Linked DNA regions of Homo sapiens: region 2 is linked to region 1. The links are contacts of gene promoters, found by promoter capture Hi-C in blood cells and fetal thymus (Javierre and others, 2016). All regions are on one chromosome and are shown on one strand. The core of a region is centred on a gene start or on the middle of the fragment in contact, and the rest is flanking DNA. Distances in the headings are between cores, read along the strand shown. Region 1 overlaps ZNF19 (zinc finger protein 19). Region 2 holds the start of ATXN1L (ataxin 1 like).

Region 1 (5,391 bases), core at 1,539-4,038:
TAATAGACAAGAATGGCCAAGAAAACTCAGGAAAAAAATCTCAGAGCAAGTCTTCCTTTACTTGGACCTGGAGCAGGCATCTTTTTTGTTCATTGCCCCACTCAAGGGCCATGAAAACCAGAAACTGATTACCAAAGGACCCTGAAGGGCCAACTCAACACACTAAAACATCTGGGTTATTGTTTTAACTATATCATCTCTTACAGACACTTTGTATTCTAGTTAAACAGCAATATTCTATAAAAAGCCAGCATCTTCCCTACAGGGACTTAATGCATGATGCTGTTTTCTGCGAGCCTCATCTTGTGCCGCCACCCTCTTTTCTCTTAGTTTAGCTACAATGGCCTTCTTTCAGTTTCCTCTGTGCTAACTCAGGACCTTCATACCTGCTGTTTCTTCTGTATGAACTACTCTTCTCCAATCTCAGAACCATTACAACTGAGATTCTCTGCCTGCCATTCTCTCCAGTAATCTAGCCGCCATTCTCTCCAGTAATCTATCCACCCTTCACCTTCAGATCATGATCGCTCTACAGACCAGGTCAGGTGTCTCTGTTAAACACTCCACTCGCACCGTACTCCTTTTCCTATATACCACTTAATCCAGTTTGAAATTATATATTGATTTGTGCTTTCTTCATTCAACAAATATTTATCTCATACATATTTCATGCAAGGCCACGTGTGACACACAACAGATGAAGTAGAGAGAGAAGGGGCATGATCCTGTCCCTCGCAGAGCTTAGTCTAAAGGAAAGACACATTAATCAAGATTCTCTCAAATAACTTTTAAGTCCACAATTTAAATCACTGCCAGGGGAAACTAACGTGGATGGGAAGCTTAAGAAAATAAATTAACTAAGGTATGAAGGAAATCTTTACAAAAGTAACAGCATACGCAAAAGCCATGTTCTAGTAGTGAAGGATCAAGAACACTGTAGTAGCAGTCAAAGGAGAGTGTGCTGTTAGATGATGCTGAAGAAGTCACAAGGGACAAAGCCACACTTTGTGCACGTCAAGAACTTGGTCTTCGATCTACGTGCACTAAGTCACGGGCAGGTGGAGTGAAATAACCAGATTTGATTAATACATGACTTTCCCATTGGGCGGAAAGCTTCCTGGGGGCGGGGCCCACGCCCCGCCTCATTCACCGCTGCATCCCCGGAATCTAGAGCAGGAACTGGCACATAGCTGCTCAGTAAGCAGCTGTGGCCCAATGAGCAGATGGGGTTTGGGCGGCGTCGAGAACAGAGGCGTCCCTTCCATCCAGCCGCCCATATCCACAGCCTCCATTTCCCAAGGCGCCGATGCAGGCGTGGGGGAGCGAAGGCACCAGAGGGAGACCGGGACCGGCCCGCGAGCAGCCTCCGCTCCCCGGTCCCGGAGGGGCCGCCCTGTCTCCCTCCACTGAGGCAGCAGGGACGAAGCCGACAGCCTTCTCTAGAGGTGCAGTGCCTGAGCCTAGCAAGGACTCCTAGGCGACAAACCCCAACACTCACCTCAGGAAAAACAGAAAGCGGTGCGTGAACGGAAGTGCGTCACTACTTTGGCCTTGCACCCAGGCTCACACGCGTACTCTCTAGGATGCCGGAGCGGTCTTCTCAGTGGTTGTGTGGTTTTACTCCCGGGAGGAGTTTCCACCCGGGGATCCTCAGAGACCTTGAATAGGAAAGAAAGTATATCATTGTTTTCGCTAATCTCTAACCGAAATTTAGCATTTTCTTCTATGTTGGCAACAAACTACTGTAGTATCAGCCGTATCTGTGACTGTCACCGATAGAAATCACAGATATTTTCATATCACATTACAGTTGATGCAGATCTCAGAATATGGCTATTCTCGTCACTAATTTGAAATTGTCCTTGTTGTTATCGGGCCCACCTCAAGTCTTGTCATTACATTTCATCACGTTGGTAAAGCTGCACTTATATTTCTGTATCACAAATTCTAAAAAACTGTTTAATTGTATGTTCATTGGTTTTGAAGGTGTCACCAGACTGCCAAAGGGTCTTTGCACAAAAAAGCTGTCCTCCTTAGAGGTAAAGACCCAGACACGTTAAGAAAGACCAGGTCAGCAGGCCAGGCGCGGTGGCTCACGCCTGTAATCCCAGCACTTTCGGAGGCCAAGGCGGGCAGATCACCTGAGGTCAGGAGTTCGAGACCAGCCTGGTCAACGTGGTGAAACCTCGTCTCTACTAAAAATACAAAAATTAGCCAGGCGTAATGGCGGGCACCTGTAATCCCAGCTACTCGGGAGGCTGAGGCAGGAGAATTGCTTGAACCCGAGAGGTGGAGGTTGCAGTGAGCCGAGATTGTGCCATTGCACTCCAGCCTGGGCGACAAAAGCAAAACTCCATCTCAAAAAAAAAAAAAACCAAAAAAACAAAAAAAAACAAAAAGAAAGAAAGACCAGGTCTAAGGAGGGATATATTAAGTAACTATTTAGGAAGTGAAAACGGTGGACATTTTTTTTTTTAATGACTGAATACAAGGCAGCCAGAGCAATCTATAATAGCCATGAATTTTGGATGACCTGATAGATGAAGGTGCCATTAGCTGAGATCAGGAATTGAAGAAGAGGAGCTGGTTTCAGGCAAGAAGGTGAAAGAATTTAGTTTCAAAAATACTGAACACACACACACACACCTGCCTTATTAACATTTAATTCACACACCATACAATTCATCAATGCAGAGTATAAAATTAAATAGGTTTTAGTGTGTTCAGAGACTTGCGCAAACATCACCACAATCAGTTTCAGGACATTTTCATCTCCCCAAAGGAACCTCATAACCATCAGCAGTCACTCTCCATTTTCCCTCTGGTAAGCAGAATGGTGTTTTGTTCCCCTCAAAGATGTATATGTCCTAATCTCTAGAACCTGTGAGTACATTAAGTTACATGACAAAGGGAAATTGAGGTTGCAGGTGGAATTAAGATTGCTAGTCAGCCAACTTTAAGATTATCTTGGGGCTAGGCACAGTGGCTCACATCTGTAATCCCAGCACTGTGGGAGGCCCAGGTGGGCAGATCACTTGAGCCTGGGAGTTCAAACCAGCCTGGGCAACATGACAAAACCCTGTCTCTACCGAAAAAAAAAAAAAAAAAATTCCAAAAAGGAACAAAAATTGGCCAGGTGTGGGCACACGCCTGTAGTCCCAGCTACTAGCTGAGTTGGGAGGATCACTTGAGCCTGGGAGGTCAAGGCTGCAGTGAGCCTTGATTGAGCCACTGCACTCCAGCCTGGGCAACAAAGCGAGACCCTGTCAAAAAAAAAAAGATGATTATCTTGGATTATTCAGGTGGGCCCAGTGTAATCATAAGAGTTCTTGAACGTGAAAGAGGGAATTGAAAGAGAATCACAAAAATGACAGCACAAGAAGGACTTGGCCCAACCTCACTGGCTTTGAAGATGGAGGAAGGGGCCAAGGGTCAAGGAAAGTGGGTGGCCTCCAGAAGATGAAAAAGGCAAGGAAACAGATTCTCTCCTTAGTCTAAATCCTGAATTTATACCAGTGGGACCCATTTTGGATTTCTGACCTCCAAAACTCTAAGATAAATTAGTGTTGTTTTACGCCACTACTCATGGCAATTTGTTACAGCAGCAATAGAAAATTAATAGACACACATGTACATACCTCTCTTCTTCCCCCAATTCTAGACAACCACTTTCTTTATAGATTTGCCTATTCTGGATATTTACATTACATAAATGACCATTAAGTCTGGATATAAAACAAAAACAAGTCTCTATTGTTAATTTTATCGGTTTTTAGAAACATGGGAACCCGTATGTTTACTTGGTGAAGAGTTGAGTATATTCTTGGCCAGAAGATGGGAACACTAAAATTAAAAACAAAAAGAGTTGGGAATAACTTATTTTTGTTTTGCAGGGAGTGGAAAGGAAGAAAATTTCCACTCTCATTTGTCTGGAAAGTCTCCCAGAGAGTTTTCAAGATCATTAATAATAATAGCTAATTCACACTGACCTGTCTTCCCAGCCAATGTATCACCTCTAAGGAAATGTATACTTGATATGTTTTGGCTCTGTGTCCCCAGGCAAATCTCATGTTGAATTATGATCTTCAGTGTTGGGGGAGGAACATGGTGGAAGGTGATTGGATCATGGGGGCGGATTTCCCCCTTGCTGTTCTCGTGATAGTGAGTTCTCATGTGATCTGGTTGTTTCGAAGTGTGTTGCGCTTCCTCCTTTGCTGTCTCTCTCCTGCTGGCCATGTGAAGATTGTGCCTGCTTCCCCTTTGCTTTCCACCATGATTGTAAGTATCCTGAGGCCTCCCCAGCCATGCCTCCTGTACAGCCTGTGGAACTGTTAGCCAATTAAACCTCTTTTCTCCATAAATTACCCAGTCTCAGGTATATCTGTATAGCACTGTGACAACGGACTAATACAATACTCATACTCATGTCTGTCACAATCTCTACCATCAAACATAATTACTTTCAAGCTTTGACCATTCCTTAGATTCCAATGGGAACCACCTTTCTTTCTGGTCACCTCACAGCCTAACTATCCAGCTCTCCCTCTAACTCCTACAGTATCTTTAACTGAAGCTATAAGTAATATCAGATCATGATACCCAGAGTATGGTGTATGATCATGGCATATTTACTGTTACTTAATCCTGACTTGAAAATACTAACTTCTCTCCCATATGTCTGAAAATCCCAGCCACAAATAGGCTGAGGCTGTGGTGGAACTTAAGTTTCATGCACAAAGTCATTTTTGCCTTGGCTGCAAAAAAATATGTAGTTAAGCTAAATATTGTGCTGCAGTATCTATACTGACATATAATTCAATATTATTCTCTCCTTGCAGCTGCAAACATACTTAATGATGAAAGACAGAATGTCTTTCCCTCCAAGATTGGGAACATGGCAGGTATGTCTGCTCTTACCACTACTATTTAACATCATATTGGGAGTCTTAGCAAGAGCAAGGCCAGAAAAAGAAATAAAAGGCACATAGGTCAGACACAGTGGCTCACACCTGTAATCCCAGCACTTTGGGAGGCCAAGGTGGATGGATTGCTTGAGGCCAGGAGTTCAAGACCAGCCTGGCCAACATGGAGAAATCGCATCTCTACTAAAAATATAAAAATGAGCCAGGTGTGGTGGTGTGTGCCTGTAATCCCAGCTACTCAGGAGGCTGAGACATGAGAATTGCTTGAACCCGGGAGGTGGAGGATGCAGTAAGCTGAGAATATGCCACTGCACTCCAGCCTGGGTGACAGAACGAGACTATCTCAAAAAAAAAAAAAAAAGAAAAAGAAAAAGAAATGAAATGAAAGACACACAGATTCGAAACTCAGAACAAAACTGTTACTATCTGCAGGCAACATGATTATCTGTATAAGAAGTCCCAAAGAATC
Region 2 (5,192 bases), core at 389-2,888, 360 kb after region 1:
GCATGCCTATCATCGCACCTACCCCAGAGGCTGAGGTGGGAGGACTGCTTGAGCACAGGAATTTGAGGCTGCAGTGAGCTAAGATGGCACCACTGCACTCTAACCTGGGCGACAGGGCTAAAAAAAAAAAAAAATTATATGTACACACACACACACACATACACGCAACTGCAATGACATATCTTTTTTTTTCTTTTTTTTTTTTTAAGACGGAGTCTCACTCTATTGCCCAGGCTGGAGTGCAGTGGCACGATCTCGGCTCACTGCAAGCTCTGCCTCCCGGGTTCATGCCATTCTCCTGCTTCAGCCTCCCGAGTAGCTGGGAGTACAGGTGCCCGCCACCATGCCCGGCTAATTTTCTGTATTTTTAGTAGAGACGGGGTTTCGCCGTGTTAGCCAGGATGGTCTGCGATCTCCTGACCTCGTGATCCGCCGGCCTTGGCCTCCCAAAGTGCTGGGATTGCAGGCGTGAGCCACCGCGCCTGGCCCAATTGTTATTTATTGAACAGAGTTTGAAGAAACTGAAAGTCTCCATTTCGGTGGCCAAAACCGCAATTACTTTTGCACCAACCTAATACTTTAAAACAAACAACAACAAAAACACAGTTGTTATTCAAACATAAATTCAACTGGCGCTCACTTTTGTCTTCACTTAAGTTAATCAGATGTTCATGTTACTATGAAGTTGACCAGTTAATTTGTAATGAATAATTAGTTAATTTGTAATGAATAATATTTCACTGAGTAGTCAAGCCCTCTTTCCACTAAACCAAGCTGCTTCTCACTGTACTAAACCCCGGGCTCTCTCTAAACTTTCAGGTGTTCCACTCCTTGTCACCTTCCCCTAGATCCTGAGTGGGGTTCACTCTTAGCTCCCTCGGGGGCCACTTCTCAACACTTACAGAGCTCCTATTGACCTGGCACGGTGGCTCACGCCTGTAATCCCAGCACTTTGGCAGGCCGAGGTGTGGGGATCACCTGAGGTCGGGAGTTCGAGACCAGCCTGACCAGCAAGGAGAAACCCTGTCTCTACTAAAAATACAAAAAATTAGCCAGGTGTGGTGGCGCATGCCTGTAATCCCAGCTACTCGGGAGGCTGAGATAGGAGAATTGCTTGAACCTGGCAGGCGGAGGTTGGGTGAGCCGAGATCGTGCCATTGCACTCTAGCCTGGGCAACAAGAGCGAAACTGTCTCCAAAAAAAAGAAAGAAAAGAAAAAAAGAAGACTTCCTATCTCCACCTGGGTCCCCAAGAGGTAAGAGGTATCTCCTTTTCTCCTGAGCCTAGGTCACCTCGGGGTCCCCCGAAGTTCCCCAGAAGGGGCTGCACAAGTCAGGACAAGAAGTCCAGGAAATGGGGGGTCGCCGATGACCACGCCCCGGGGCTCTGTTTGGGAACCCCCAAAATTTACTGAGGTGGAAAGATTGCGGGGTCATTGTGGGGTCAGGCTGAGGGGGCCGGGCCCAGCCCTATTCACGTGACCCGGTCCCAGGGAGAGGAGTTTGTTCACCCACCAGAGGGAACGCCCGACGCGAAGGCAGTGTGGCACCCTCCCTTCCCGGGGAGTCCTGGGCGTTGCTCTCCCACCCCGGCCGTGACGCAATCTCTCCGCGCCGGGGGCGGGACGAGCTTGACGCCATCTCCGGGCGCCCGGCTGTGGGGGGCGCTGGGTGTGGGGCGGCTCCGGGGCCGGGGATGGCGGCGGCCGCGGTTGCGGCGGCTCCGGGACGAGTGAGTGGATCCTGGGAAGCGCTGTGAAATGGGCTGGTGAGTGTCCCTGGAAGTGGTGGCCGCCGGGGCCAGGCAGGCCTGGGGTCGGTGCTCCGGAGGAAGTGGCCCTCAGGAGCCCGTTGCTCCGGCGGGCCGGGGCCCATGAACCGTGGACAGACGGAGGGGAGAGGCCGCACCTAGACCCCCTCGCGCTTCTCTCTGGCCTGTCCTGGAAGGTGGCCTCAGGCCCCGGCGCCCCGGAGGCTGTGTGCCTGCGAGCCAAGGTGTCCGAGTCTGTGGGGCGGGAAGGGCCCCCAAACAAGGAAGCGTCGCCTGCAGGGCCTCGCCCCTGCCCCCTTGGTGAAGGGTGGACCCCCTACTCTCTAAACGCAGAATTCCCAATTTCGAGCCCTACCCTTGTTGGATCAAGGATTGCGGGACCACTGGGAGCCATAACCGTAGTCTCTGACAAGCTTCTCCCTTTCTGTCGGGCGCACCTCTCGCCCGCAGAGAATTTGGGTCTCCAGCTGGGTTCAGCCCCTTGATTCCGACCCAAGCGTGATGAGGAGCTTGGTTCCGGGCTCTGCTAGCAGCGTTGGCAACTCTCCTGAACAGCCTGTTAGCTCGGTTGGGGTCACAAGCTGCGTTTTCCCTTTGAGATGCTCAGTGAGGTTCTCGAGAGGCGGAGGTTTCGGATTCTTAAGTGTGTTTTGCGTTGTGGGAACCTGGCGCACAGGCTTGGCTCTTTGTTTTCCTTTCTGCAGACCTTTTGCCTCTTTCGGTCCCTTTACTAGCCTGTGTTTGCTAACTTCTCGGTGACCTGGAGGCAGGTTTTCTTTAAAGTTTTCGTTACAGAAAGCAAGGATCATTTTGGGATTGAAGTGTGACCCCAGTTTCTGTTGGGAATGAAGAAGAAAGCAAGCTGCTTTTCAGTTATTAAAGCTGCTGGTGGAGAAAAGAGTCATTATTTATGCCACTGTGTAATAATATGTGTTTGTGGAATTAGGAATTTGTTTTCCCACTGTGTTTTCCTATCCTTCCACCTTTTGTGTACACCTGCACCTTGCCAATCTTAAGAGAGAAATGTTGCATTCGGTTTGGGTTGAGGCTTAGAGTGTTCTATAGGACTTGGACAGGATAGTCAGTTTCTCAGAGCACTCACTCATCTGTACTGCCTTCTCTGTTTTCAGAGGTTAAGGCTCCATTCTTTCTCGCTTTGCGTTTCTGGCAAGTGTAGATTCACATAGTGATGGTTTAGTGGTAGTTTTGTTTCACCAGTGTTAGCCAGCTGAGGACCAAGGCAATATTTTCAGTTTCTTTCATACCTGATTCAGCACTTGGTATACTGTCACTCAGAAAATTTTACATACACACACACATATGCTCATTTTTTTTTAACCCTGAAAATCTCTTAATAAGTCTTCTCCTTGAGTGACTCCCCCCTGACCTCTTTTTCTGCCCCAGAAACATAAATAATTGTTCTTTTTCATCTACTGCTGCTTTTTTTCATTTAAATAACTCCACATTTATGTTTTCATAGGCCCAGAATAAAGGGGAAATCCATAGAGTTGATTTTTCCTGCTTCCCATTGTTCATATGGGAACAGTGTTAAAGCTTCCATTTTTATTTGTGCGTTTATCTGAAATTTGGATTGGAGCAAATTTAACCTTTGGGGAACAGGCACAGGTAGATGTTAGGGAAATGATGTTACGGAAAACCAATGAAATTTGATACATGGAAATTTTTTTTCAGGGATGTCTTCTTACAAGTTGGAGCATTAGAGGTGTTTTTCTCTCTGTTCAACTGCCTGGGCACTCTGGGTAAATGTACTGTTTACCTGTGGAGAAGAAGATGAGGCAAGGACGTGTATACTCTAATGCTTTGGAATTACCTTTCATGGTGACCCTGGGGAGAATTAGAGGTCAGGCAGCCGCTTACTCCATTCCTGTTTCTATCTTCTAGGCTCCCGAGCCAGCCGGGAGGACACTTACTACAGCTGCTCAGAAGCACCACTGGAAACTCAGGTAATACCGGCACTTTGAATTCCTTGTTTCAGGAAAATATCTGGGATGTCACAGTGGAAAAACAGAACAGAATGTAATATAGAAAGCTCTTTTCAGATCCAAAGAACTGGAACCTGGTTGGAAGAAATAGGCAGCAAAGTTCATGTGCACTGAAGTGTTCAGACCAAAAAGTTGCTTTATAACAATGGACAAAAGCATTTGTGAAAGGTGACAATAAGAGAAAAGGGAAAGAGAACTTTCTTATGAATCATACAGATACGGGGAAAAAAACAGGCATGTTTAGAGGAATGGAACCAGAATTTCATGGAGTGGTGCCTGGAGCAGACCTACAGTGGAGAAGGAGCTATTGGTAAAAGAAAGCACAAAGAAAAAAGAAAGGGAATGAATAGAGAAGGCAAATTGAAGGTGATCATTGAGAAGAAGCCTTTTGAGACTAGGGAACCGGAAGTGTACGTAAGGTCAGAAGAATTTAGAATTTTGTTGTTCTTTGGTGAAGAGGAGAAACAAGTTGACAGCAAACTAGTTTAATCACTTTCACTATATAGAGGCTGAGTTAAAATGTATTATTTCATGGGTCAAAGATGTTAATTTTCATAACCTGGTTAGGGAGCAAAGTCTTAAAAAAAAAAACAAAACACGAGCAGACCTGAGGGTTTTGGCACCTAGGTCCTTGAGGTACTGATGAGATGAGGCAAAGGAGGAAGAGAGTTTTTAGCCAGGCTTGGGATAGCAGTAGGTGAGATCATAACCCAAATTAGGCTACAGAAAGGAAGCAAGGATGAGGTCATATGTTCAGGAAAGAAGGTGGCACATTCATGTTTGGTAGCAAAAGGAGAAACTTAAGAAAAAGAGCCAGCAGGAGGCTGGGCGCTGTGGCTCACACCCGTAATCCCAGCACTTTGGGAGGCTGAGGTGGGCGGATCACCCAAGGGCAGGCGTTCGAGACTAGCCTGGCCAACATGGTGAAACCCCATCTCTACTAAAAATACAAAGTTAGCCAGGCGTGGTGGTGCATGCCTGTAGTCCCAGCTGCTTGGGAGGCTGAGGCAGGAGAATTGCTTGAACCCGGGAGGCGAGGTTGCGGTGAGCTGAGATTGCACCATGTACTGTGGCCAGGGCAACAAGAGCAAAACTCCATGTGTTTTAAAAAAAAAAAAAAAAAAAAAAAAAAGCAAAAGAGCCAGCAGGAAAGACCATGTGTTCAAAGCCCCCTTTGGGAAGAAGGCAGAAAAGAGACAAGGTGCTTATGAGACACATGACTAACCGTGAAGCTGTTGGTCTCCCTGGGCTTGTGGAGCCCACAGGTTATTTGTGCATTGGTGAATGCGTGTCCCTGTAGCTCTTTGTGCCTTGTGATTTCCCCGACTGTTTCTCTCATGTCCCAGGCTGGATGAGTTGGGGGTAGCCTCCTTGTCTGCCCCTTTCTCTTTCCTCCTTATTTTCTAACAGTCCCCTTTG

The links. The method cuts DNA at HindIII sites, captures the fragments that hold promoters and counts their contacts. A CHiCAGO score of 5 or more calls a contact.
Region 2: the fragment with the promoter of ATXN1L here is called in contact with a fragment that was not itself captured in region 1 in 1 of 17 cell types (non-activated CD4 T cells); the score reaches 5.5 in non-activated CD4 T cells.

The regions. Positions count from the first base shown.
Region 1 is chr16:71,483,091-71,488,481 of GRCh38, forward strand. It overlaps ZNF19 (zinc finger protein 19), which reads right to left. Exons shown (of 6, transcript NM_006961.4): 2 at 1,499-1,658. Among named protein-coding and RNA genes, the nearest start is that of ZNF19, 3.5 kb to the right of the region's middle. RefSeq lists an enhancer at 778-1,687 and a silencer at 1,255-1,534. The HindIII fragment of the contact is 3,354 bases long and covers 1,112-4,465 here.
Region 2 is chr16:71,844,338-71,849,529 of GRCh38, forward strand. ATXN1L (ataxin 1 like) reads left to right here and starts at 1,639. Exons shown (of 3, transcript NM_001137675.4): 1 at 1,639-1,767; 2 at 3,673-3,734. RefSeq lists enhancers at 711-1,483, 1,217-1,266, 1,484-2,255, 2,057-2,126 and a silencer at 1,527-1,836. The HindIII fragment of the contact is 5,556 bases long and covers 1-2,181 here.